Linked DNA regions of Homo sapiens: region 1 is linked to region 2. The links are contacts of gene promoters, found by promoter capture Hi-C in human tissues and cell types (Jung and others, 2019). All regions are on one chromosome and are shown on one strand. The core of a region is centred on a gene start or on the middle of the fragment in contact, and the rest is flanking DNA. Distances in the headings are between cores, read along the strand shown. Region 1 has its middle 13 kb from the start of MLLT1. Region 2 holds the start of LONP1 (lon peptidase 1, mitochondrial).

Region 1 (5,959 bases), core at 160-2,659, 570 kb after region 2:
ACTAAAAATACAAAAATGAATTAGCCAGATGTGGTGGCACATGCCTGTAATCCCAGCTACTCAGGAGGCTGAGGCAGGAGAATAACTTGAACTTGGGAGGTGGAGGTTGCAGTGAGCCGAGATCATGCCACTGCACTCCAGCCTCGGCGACAGAGCAAGACACCATCTCAAAAAAAAAAAAAAGAATGGAAGAGGAAACACTTTCAGGTGTGCATACCAGAGGGCATACGAAGGACTAGGACAAAGCCTCTCAATTACACTAAGCTATCCATGGTAGACAGGGATTAAGCGTGAGTCCCACTGCCTTCCTGGAAAGGCTAAGAGAGGCCTTGGTAAAACACACCTAAGTCCTGATTGAGGAGAGGGACATCTGATCCTAGAGGATGAGTTTATGACACAGTCAGGCCCTGATGTCAGGAGGGAGCTTCAGAAACAGGCTGCAGGGCCAGATGGTACTTTGGAGGGCCTCCTGGGAGTGGTCACCTTAGACTTTGCTGTGGGAACTTGGAGGAAGTCCAGAAAAGAGAGAGGAGATACGGAAAAAAAGGCAAAAGCTCTAATACCTGCCCTGAAGCTTCACGGACTCCATAGTCCCTGAGATGCACCCGTTGTCTGCTGCAAATGTGGCAGGCCAGGCCACTTCAGGAGAGACTGTCTGGGCAGTGCGGGGAGGCCACCTCAACCCTGTCTGGTTTGCAGTGGGAACCATTGTAGGGGCAGCCTGTCCCTGGAGACACAGGTTGCCGGGTCCAGGACCAGACTTCCAGATGGTCCAGAAGGACAGATGGATTCTAGGGCTCCTTTCCCAAGCTCTGATGGTTCAGACCACTATTACCATCCAGGAGCCCTGGGTTGAAGGGAGGAAGGTAGCCACCTCCTGGACTCTGGAGCAGGCCTTTCAGTTCTCCTCCCCAACCCAGGCCCCCTTCCTCTCTTAGCACGACTGTAAGCAGCATCTCAGGTCTTCTTCCCCACCACGCCAGGAGTCAACATAGTCTTGTGACTACAGGGAGCTTTTCTCTGTGGGGTTACTTTTGTTTCCGTTAGGGAGTGTATTAGTTCGTTTTCATGTTGCTGATAAAGACATACCCAAGCCTGGGAAGGAAAATAGGTTTAACGGACTCACAGTTCCACATCATGAGGAGATTCTCCAGAGTCTGAGGGTCAAAGGCGTTCCAGTGATTTATTTATTTATTTATTTTTTAAGACAGAGACACGCTCTGTCACCCAGGCTGGAGTACTGTGGCACAATCTCAACTCACTGCAACCTCACAATCATGGCAGAAGGAGAAAGGCACTTCTTACATGGCAGAAGCAAGAGAGAATGAGGAAGAAGTGAAAGCAGAAACCCTTTATGAAACCATCAGATCTCATGAGACTTATTCACTACCATGAGAACAGTATGGGGGAAACCATCCCCATGATTCAATGACCTCCCACTGAGTCTCTCCCACAACATGTGGGAATTATGAGAGTATAATTTAAGATGAGATTTGGGTGGAGACACAGAGCCAAACTGTATCAGGGAGGCACCTTATTAGGTCAGGTCCCCAATTTCTGGGACTCCCTTTCTCTCCCTTGTTTGAGGAGGACCTGGCCTCACGGCTTCACCTGCTTATGATAGAGAGGCAGTAGAGGAGCAGCCCCCTCCAGTTGCTATCTGCAATTTGGCGAGGGCCACATGGGACTAATTTAATGGGTCCATAGACCCATCTGAGTCACCTTTTTTGTCCCAAGCTTCACTTTAAAGTCCTGAAATGGGACATTAGACCTGAGGCAGATGACAGCAGGAGTTGAGAGGCACAGCCCAGGTGAGCATGACTAATTCCTGCCAGTTAGCCCTCCTGCTTCATGGATGGAAGCATAGATAAGGTCTAGGGAACCCAAAGGTTACCAACAGCAGAAGGATAGGGTGGTATGTAGGTAAGTGCGAATATTCCTACCCACTAGGCCTTCCCGCTGCATGGGTGAAGGTTGCACTCGCAGCTATGAGTGGCACCTGCAAAGGTCACTGGGACTCAAGGATATAAGGTTGGAAGAGGAAAAAGAGATGCCTTTTTAAAAAAATCTCCATCACGTACCCCAGGTATTCACTGGAAAGAGAGGAACAAAGGGATGTCTTTCCCCTCTTTCCAGATGGGTAAGCAACCAATCATTTTCAGCCTGCACTCCTCTCAAGTGCATTCTAAATTACTGGAACGCAGCCGGGTGTGGTGGCTCATGCATGTAATCCCAGCACTTTGGGAGGCCAAGGTGGGTGGATGACTTGAGGCCAAGACTTTGAGACCAGCCTGACCAACATGGCAAAACCCCATCTCTACCGAAAATACAAAAAATTAGCTGGGCATGGTGGCACATGTGCCTGTAATCCCAGCTACTTGGGAGGCTGAGGCAGGAGAATCACCTGAACCCAGGAGGCAGAGGTTGCAGTGATCTGAGATTGTGCCACAGTACTCCAGCCTGGGTGACAGAGCATGACTCTGCCAAAAAAAAAAAAAAAAAGAAGAAGAAAAGAAAAAAGACACTGGAACTCCTTTGACCCTCAGACTCTGGAGAAAAAAACATTTTTCCTTTATTCCTCCTCTGTTCTCTCTTCACAGATGGGTAATCACACCTCTGTACCACAGGATACTCCCCTGGGATCCATCCCGCAAACTAGGAAGAGTTTAATTTCCCCAAGCGTTAAACTGCTTGGCAATTTCTTGAGGAGGGACAACTTCTCTTTGGCTGTTCCCCTTCACAGGACTCCAGGGTCAATAGGGCTCCATGGCTCAGGGGAATGGAACCCAGAAGCCTGACATGCTGACAAAAGGGTAAGAGTTTTTAGCAGTTGGACTTCTGGCTTCTCTCTCTCTGTGCAAGCTGGTTGTAGGAATGACAAAAACTGTATTCTCTGCCCCTCCATGAGTTCAAAAGTCAGAAGTATTGGCCATTTGGCATGGCTAAGGTCAGGTAGTAACATATTTTAAAAGATTTCCTTTTTTTTTTTGAGACAGAGTCTTGTTCTATTGGCCAGGCTGGAGTACAGTGGTGCAATCTCAGCTCACTGCAACCTCCGTCTCCCAGGCTCCAGCAATTCTCCTGCCTCAGCCTTCCAAGTAGCTGGGATTACAGGCATGTGCCACCATGCCCGGCTAATTTTTGTAATTTTTAGTGGAGACAGGGTTTCACCATTTGGCCAGACTGGTCTCGAATTCCTAACTGCAGGTGATCCACCTGCCTCAGTCTCCCAAAATGCTGGGATTATAGGCATGAGCCACTGCGCCTGGCCAGGACTTCTTAAAAAGGAAGTGCTATGGTTGGCCAGGTGTGATGGCTTGCACCTGTAATCCCAGCACTTTGGGAGGCCGAGGCGGGCAGATCACAAGGTAAGAAGATCGAGACCATTCTGGCTGACATGGTGAAACACCGTCTCCACTAAAAATACAAAAAAAATTATCCAGGTGTGGTGGTGGACACCTGTAGTCCCAGCTACTCAGGAGGCTGAGGCAAAAGAATGGCATGAACCCATGAGGCGGAGCTTGCAGTGAGCTGATATCAAGCCACTGCACTCCAGCCTGGGCAACAGAGCAAGACTCTGTCTCAAAAAAAAAAAAAAAAAAAAGGAAATGTGATGGTTAAAAGTCAGCTTAATTAAAGATGGAGGATATCCAAACTATAGGTATATTTAAAAGGCCTTTATGTCGTTTATCGTTGTAGATTTTGTTTTTCTGGAAAAAGGTGTTTTCTTTTCGGTCAACTGAACAATTTTTCTCCATTTTTGTCTTGCCACTCTTAATGCACACATGAGGGGTTCCAGGATGACTTCTGGTGGCCTGGGACTCCTTGGGAAAAACAGAGGAGGCGCCACTGATCCGTTTTGGGAAAAACCTCTGTTTTCCTCAGGAACTTCAGGAATTACGGGCAGATGGATCCCTCTCAAAATCTATTTTTGTCTTCCAGCTATGCCTACTTATTAAGCCTTAGAAACTACATGTTTTCCTAGCCCTGGTTCTCGAAGGGCTCCACCCCCCGGCCAGTAATCCAATTAAGAAATTGGCACAAGAGGCTGGGCACGGTGGCTCACACCTGTAATCCAAGCACTTTGGGAGGCCAAGGTGGGAGATTCACCTGAGGCCAGGAGTTCGAGACCAGCCTGGCAGCATAGCAAAACCCCATCTCTACTAAAAATACAAAAACTAGCCAGGTGAGTTGGCGGGCGCCTGTAATCCCAGCTACTTGGGAGGCAGAGGCAGGAAAATCGCTTGAACTCAGGAGGTAAAGGTTGCAGCGAGCCAAGATCATGCCACTTGGACAACAGAGTGAGACTCTACATTCCAGCTTGGACAACAGAGTGAGACTCTGTCTAAAAAAAAAAAAAAAGAAAAAGGAAAAAAGAAAAATCTTACAACTACTAGTGGATCTCCTGTCTGTCATATAGTTATATATGTGTTGTATGTGTGATGTTTATATAAAAGAACTCTAACTGATTAGCTTAAGGAAAAATAAGCACTTAGGTCAAATATTCTTGAAGAAAAATAGAAACTGCAATGCCTTTTAGTTCTCATGACTTAATCTTAGAGAAATAAAAATAGTCTTAAAGATTATTGGTAAAATAAAAATGACTTCAAAATGTAGACATGTGGTCCAAATTATGCAGCTCAGATATTAGGTTTGCTAAATGCTTTAAAGTCATAAACTGCTTCTTTGGCTTTTGAAAACTGTTTGACTTGCCTGCTTTATGGTTTGGTAAGGACTAGGGACATAGGGAGCTAATCACACCCCTAGATATGCTGGAAATATTCAGATCTTATCTGCACCTAGGACATAATTAAAATAACTTACTAGGTTTTCTTTTTTTTTTTTAACTAGGTTTTCTTTTTACCAAAAATAAGAATTGCTAAGAGTTACCATTATAACATGTAATTGAGACTCCTGAAAATAGACTTACATGCAAAGTATATAAGGAAAGTAAACTGTGTCTTTAGTTAAAGAATATAAGAAGGCATGGGAATGTAAATTTTTGCCAAATTTAGAAATTTAAAGGATTGTTTTAAATTAGATAAGATAAAGCTAAGGGTTTAAACAAGTTATAGAAGGTTTGTAAAAATTAATCTTATAAAAGGAATTGTGTGTGTGAATATATTGACTAAATTCTTTTTTTTTTTTTTTTTTTTTTTGAGATCACTATGTCACCCAGGCTGGAGTGCAGTGGCACAATCTTGGCTCACTGCAACCTCCACCTCCCAGGTTCAAGCGATTCTTCTGCCTCAGCCTCCCTAGTAGCTGAGATTACAGGTGCATGCCACCACTCCTGGCTAACTTTTGTATTTTTAGTAGAGATGAGGTTTTGCCATGTTGTCCAGGCTGGTCTCGAACTCCTGACCTCAAGTGATCTGCCCACCTCAACTCCCCAAAGTGCTGGGATTACAAGCATGAGCTACCATGCTCAGTCCATATTGACTAAATTCAAAAGGGTATTATTTGGTTTTCCTGTAAGTTGAACATTGGAATGGAAGCACGATCTGCTATTCTTAGGGCACTGATCTGCGGTTTCATAATAAATGTTATAAGCCTTTAGTATGTTTGATAGGCTTCCCGAAATCACATTTCAACTTCAAAATTGTCTTTTCTAACCCCTAGCTTTTGGATGCTACAGAGGATCCCTGGAGTGTCCAGGGAAGAAGTAGACAGGATGATTTGACATGTTTAGCTACATAGGATTGCCAAAATAAGGTGGTGTTTGGTCTCCGGTGGGTTGCATTTCAGTGAATAATGTTAATGTGTATTCCAAAATTGTATGGGATTTCTAAAGTTCTGACGTCTGAGAAAGTGTTATGAATCATAATTAGGGTTATTATGTTAGGTTATTGTAGACCACAGTGGTTACCAAATTTCTTTGTCAATCATGATTTTGACTGTGACTACCCTAGGACATTTTGACATTCATAGGCAATTGTTGTCTTGTTTTTTATGTTTG
Region 2 (5,949 bases), core at 1,764-4,263:
CTTATGATTTATTCTTTAATACCCACCAAAAATTAAGAGCCATTGTTCCTTACTCAAAAGTTGCTAATAGGAGAGAAGCTTCTAGAGCAAGTTGGCCAGACAAGTCAAGTACAAACTGAAGAGTAAATCAAGCTTTGCTAACAATTTCAGAAACATTTATTGGGTCCCAAAGAAGTTGCCTCCCAATTTCCCCTCTGCCAACAGCTGATAGCTGCATCCTTGGCATCTGCCTCCTGGCCTTGGCAGGATCCATTTTTATGATTTACAATGCATCATCAACCAGAAATACAATGAGAACCACCTGCCAGTCTCCCAAATACTATCTGCAGCCACTCATTTAACTCTCCTGGCTAGCTCCACGTGGGCCGTCTGAACTCTCTTAGAAGAATCATCTCTCTGCTCAGGCACCGGGAGCAAGGGGCATCTGTCGCTCTGCAGAACGGAGGGGACCAGGCCTGATGAACACCATCCTGGGCCCAGAAACCTGGGAGGGTAAAGAGAACTGCCAGGGGTGAAGTCAAGGATGGGAAAAAGGCCTCCGGGGCAGAGTCCTGAAATGTCAGAAGTACACCAAAGAGGAAACAGCATCACGTTATTGCTGAGGCAGGGCCTCATTCTGTTGCCCAGGCTGCAGTGCAGTGGTGACACCATGGCTCACTGCAGCCTTGATCTCCCAGTTTCAAGTGATCCTCCTGCCTCAGCCTTCCAAGTAGCTGGGAAGACAGGTGCATGCCACTGTGCCCGGCTTTTCTTTCTTTCTTTTTTTTTTTTTTTTTGTAGAGACAGGGTCTATGTTGACCATACTGGTTTCAAATTATGCTCCTGCCTCAGCCTCCCAAAGTGCTGGGATTAAACATGTGAGACACCGTGCCCAGCCCACATGGCCTCATTTAAATCCCACAACAACTCTAATAAGACACTAATATGTCCAGGTCACAGATGAGAAGAGGGAAGCCAAAGGAATAACTTGCTGAAGGTTATGGAGCTAGGATAGGACCCCACAAGGTCTTGCTCTGGGGGCCTGCATCAGTAACCAGTACTCAACATCAAGGAAAGGCCTTGGGGCCGGGCGCAGTGACTCGCACCTGCAATCCCAGCACTTTGGGAGGCTGAGGCGGGTGAATCACTTGAGGTCAGGAGTTCGAGACGAGCGTGGGCAACATGGTGAAACCCTGTCTCTTCTAAAAATAGAAAAATTAGCCAGCCACGGTGGCGGGCGCCTGTAATCCCAGCTACTCAGGGGGCTGAGGCAGGAGAATCACTTGAACCCGGGAGGCAGAGGTTGCAGTGAGCTGAAATCGCGCCACTGCACTTTAGCCTAGATGACAGAGTGCAACTTGGTCTCAAAAAAAAAAAAAAAAAAATCTTGGAGCAGCGTTGGAGAAGCTCCCTCTGTCCCCTCTCTACTGGCTGCTGCCCCTCTGAAATGGCCTTTCCCTTCCCAACAGATCCTTGAGATTTGTTTAGAAGAGTCTGGAGAGTGAGCGCAGAGGCTGACTCACTGCGTGACCTTGCTCTGCCAGTTAGGAGATAACCTTCCCATAGATGCCACTTTCCACATCAGTAGTTTTTTTTTTTAAGGGAAGGGGAGCTGGGGGAGAAGGCTTTTGGGGCCTTCCTACTGTAAAAGCTCAAGTTCCTTACACTCACTGCTTTCTCTCTATTACATCATCCTGCTCCCTCCCCACCCCCAAGGCTCTTAGTCTGAAATGATCTAATTTCTACCACCGGAATGACTTGTTCTCTACAGTATTCTCAGAACTTGCTACGTGGTAGGAGGTCAAGAACACACTGAATAACCCACCTCTTCCCACCCTCCTAAGCCTCCTGTCCCATCCATGCTCTACTATTTCTCGTAATTATTGCCTTCTAATACAATATCGTTACTAAACATCTTTATTGCCTGTCTCATCCTGCCAAAATGTAAGCTCCAAGGCAGATTTATTTTTTAAGAGACAGGGTCTCGCCATGTTGACCAGGCTGGACTCCAGGTTTCCAACAATCCTTCCACCTCAGCCGCCAGAGTAGCTGGGAGTACAGCGCGCGCCACCATGCCCAGCTTCAAAGGCAGAAATTTTTGTCTGTTTTGTTCACTGCCATATCCCCAGAACCTAGAACACTCTCTGGCAAATAATAAGCAATCAAGAAGTATTTGTCTAAGAAAGGAATGAATTCTGATCCCAGTGAGGCTCGTAACCAGACGGCAGAGCGCCTGGGGCGAGGAGGTATTACAAAACTCGTGCCAAGTAAGGAGAAAACTAACAGCGCCGTAACACTACTCAGGTCCCTCCCGGCCCCGGATTTCTATGACCGGCGTTCTAAAGTGGATAATCCTAGGCTCATCGGGTTCAACTCCTCTCATCTAACGGATCCTAAGAAATCCGAAAGGGAGAGGACTTTGGCTCAAGGTTCCCAAGCTAGTGGTGAGCAGACAAGGATTCGAACTGCACCCTTCGAGAAACTTCATGTCTGAAAAAGTTGCGAAACACAAGGGCGCTCAAGTGATCCCACGGTTCAGCCCGCTGCTTGCACAGGTGGGAAACCTGAGGCCGAGGCGGGGACTCCCATTACCTCGATAATCTTGATAAAGCGCGGGAACACCGGGTTGCGGGTGATGGCGATGAGCGGCAGGTGCGGAAACACATCGGGGATCGTCATGGGCGTGAGCGCCGTTATGACCGGGCCTTCCCCGGCGCCCGCGCTGCCCCCCGCGCCGCCGGCTCCTTCCTCCGCGCCGCCCTCGGAGGCGTCCTCGCCCCCCGAGAATGCGCCTCCGCCGCGGCTGCTCGCTTCCCAAAACCCCCGCCATTGGCCCCCAATTGCCGGGCCTCGGCCCCACAGTGCCCAAGGAGGAGAGGCGTCGCAGGTCCGCTGGCCTCGGAGCAACCACGCTCCTGCTGCAGTGGGAACCCGCCCCCCGGCGGCGGCCAGCATCGGCCGCCGCAGCACCCAGCACCGCGCCGCTCCCCACAGTCGCACGTAGCCAGTGCTCGCCGCCATAGCCCGGCCATACTGGCGGCTCACACAACTCGCGTCATTTCCGCTCGCCGCGAAACGCACGTGACGCCCGGCGCGTGCCTCGGTACCCGATGGGCGCGTGGCTCGAAACAGCCGCTTCAGGGAGCTGGGCCTACGCGGAGAAGAGGGGGCGGAGTTCGAGCATCGGATCGTCTCCGCCTCTTCCGGTCTCCCACTTTATGCGCTGAAGGCCTTTTCCGGTCACGTGGAAGGCTGTGAGCAGGCGCCAGCGCCCGTACAAAACACTGGTAGTGTTGCAAACGCAACGTTTAGGAACTCATGAGCAGCCTGTGCACATGCTTAGGCGCGCGGACAACATGCGCATGCTCAGACTCTAGACTGGCCACGGGTGGCCGGGTGCGCATACTCAGGCTCTGAGCGCACTTTGGGGTGCGCGGATTCGGGCTTCCCGGGATTCGTCTGCGCATGCTCAAGATTCAGGCGGAGCGCCGGGCTGCAGTGCGCGGAGGCCCGCTCCCGGGACTCATTGATGCGCATGCGCAGGGCTTCAGCCTGCACGTACTCGGATTGTGCAGCGACTCCCCGTGGCGGTTGAGGGGCAGTGGTGGCGGCGGAAGCCCAAGTCGATGCTGATGTTGATGCTGGTGGCGGCTGTGACCATGTGGCTCCGACCGCTGGTCACAGCTCAGCTCTGTCGGTGGGGCTGCCAGGACTCCTGGGGCTGGGGTGCTGCCGGGGGTCGGGAGGGTGCTGGTTCATCTTGGAGCCGAGGCCTGCTCCCCAACCTCACTGAGGCTCCCCTTTTACTCTTTTTAGGAATCGAACTTGACGCCTCGCTCACCCTACTCCACCCCATCCTCCCAGCCCGATATTAAGCTCTCCTACCTCTTTTTTTTTTTTTTTTTGAGACGGAGTCTCGCTCTGTCGCCCAGGCTGCAGTGCAGTGGCGCGATCTCGGCTCACTGCAAGCTCCGCCTCCCGGATTCACGCCATTCTCCTGCCTCAGCCTCCTGAGTAGCTGGGACTACAGGCGCCTGCCACCACGCCCGGCTAATTTTTTTTTGTATTTTTAGTAAAGACGGGGGTTTCACCGTATTAGCCAGGATGGTCCCGATCTCCTGACCTCGTGACCCGCCTGCCTCGGCCTCCCAAAGTGCTGGGATTACAGGCGTGAGCCACCACGCCGGGCCTAGCCCTCCCACTTCTTTTTCTTTTTGGAGCCGGAGTTTTTGCTCTGTTTCCCAGGGTGGAGTGCAGTGGCGCGATCTCTGCTCACTGCAACCCCCGCCTCCCAAAGTGCTGGGATTGCAGGCGTGAGCCACCGCGCCCAGCCTTACCCAGCACATTTTGAAATTTCAGTAAATGTTAGGTTAGTGCATACTCCAACCTGCCATGGGGACCAGTTGCTGAAACTCCGTTCCTGCCCTCAGGGAACTCCCATCTGGACTAAACTGTCACATTCAGTAGGGACCTGTGAGCTGTATTCTTAGGGTGTATGGCCTCATTTGATGTTTACAGGAAGATTCATAATGATTCCTTAACCTTATTTTATTTTATTTATTATTATTTTTTGTACAGATGGGGTCTCACTGGCTGGGTGCAGTGGCTCACGCCTGTAATCCCAACACTTTGAGAGGTAGAGGTGGGCAGATCACTCACTTGAGGTCAAGAGTTCCAGACCAGCCTGGCCAACATGATGAAACCTCGTCTCTACTAAAAATACAAAAATTAGCCAGGCTTGGTGGCAGGTGCCTGTAATCCCAGCTACTTGGGAGGCTGAGGCAGAAAAATCGCTTGAATTCAGGAGGTGGAGGTTGCAGTGAGCTGAGATCGCACTCCAGCCTGGGTGACAAAGGGAGACTCTGTCTCAAAGGAAAAAAAAAAAAAAAGAGATGGGGTCTCACTGTTTTGCCCAGGCTGGTCTTGAACTCCTAGGCTCCAGTGATCCTCCTGCCTCAGCCTCCCAAAGTGTTGGGATTACAGGCATGAGCCACCCATGCCCAGCCATACCCTTATTTTATTTTTTTGAGATGGAGTCTTGTTCTCGTCGCCCAGGCTGGAGTACAATGTCACGGTCTCGGCTCACTGCAACCTCCGCCTCCCAAGTTCAAGCAATTCTCCTGCCTCAGCCTCCAGAGTAGTTGGGATTATGGGCGCCTGCCACCACGTGCAGCTAATTTTTTGTGTTTTTAGTAGAGACAGGGTTCCACCATGTTGCCCAGGTTGGTCTCGAACTCCTGACCTCGTGATTCACTTGCCTCGGCCTCCCAACGTGCTGGGCTTACAGGCGTGTGCCACCGCGCCCGGCCAACACCCTTATTTTATAGATACGAAAGCATACTTAGGAAAGTTAAAGACACACTTGCCTAACAACACATACCTAGTAAGTGGGAGAAACATTTTCCAGTGAAATTTACTAATAGGATTTGTCTCGAGTTCTGAAAATGTGGGTTATATCCAGTTCTCTCATTTCCCCACACAGGCTCTCAAAGAATGGTCCCTGGACCAGCAGCATCAAGATCACCTGGAATTTATTATAATTGGTTAGAAATGCAGTTCCCTGGACCTACTGAGTCGGGGACTTGGCAGTGGGACCCAGCAAACGGTGGTTTATCAAGACCCCCCCCCCCGCAACCCCGGTGATTCTGATGCATATTCAAGATTGAGCACCTCTGCTGTAAACTATACCATCCTTCCAGTCACCACACACTCCCTTAAGGAGCCCCGAATACCTTGTTGCAGGACTTCATAATTTTCCTCAGCTGGGGTCTGTGAAGGAGCCTTTAGAAATTCTTGGCCGGGCGCGGGGGCTCACGCCTGTAATCCCAGCACTTTGGGAGGTGGAGGCGGGCGGATCACGAGGTCAGGAGATCGAGACCATCCTGGCTAACACGGTGAAACCTCGTCTCTACCAAAAATACAAAAAATTAGTCGGTGTGGTGGCGGGCGCTTGTAGTCCCAGCTACTCGG

What was found. Contacts are between HindIII fragments. The study calls those that stand out against the background at their distance.
Region 1: a contact is called between a fragment that was not itself captured here and the fragment with the promoter of LONP1 in region 2, in 1 of the 25 tissues and cell types used here (dorsolateral prefrontal cortex).

Annotation. Positions count from the first base shown.
Region 1 is chr19:6,290,274-6,296,232 of GRCh38, forward strand. No RefSeq gene overlaps it. Among named protein-coding and RNA genes, the nearest start is that of MLLT1, 13 kb to the left of the region's middle. The HindIII fragment of the contact is 5,354 bases long and covers 1-4,086 here.
Region 2 is chr19:5,717,133-5,723,081 of GRCh38, forward strand. LONP1 (lon peptidase 1, mitochondrial) reads right to left here and starts at 3,014. Exons shown (of 18, transcript NM_004793.4): 1 at 2,572-3,014. The coding sequence starts at 3,000. It overlaps CATSPERD (catsper channel auxiliary subunit delta), which reads left to right and starts at 3,505. Exons shown (of 22, transcript NM_152784.4): 1 at 3,505-3,676. The coding sequence starts at 3,606. RefSeq lists enhancers at 629-1,145, 1,146-1,661, 2,695-3,211, 3,164-3,263 and silencers at 2,624-2,703, 2,834-2,883. The HindIII fragment of the contact is 49,943 bases long and covers 1-5,949 here.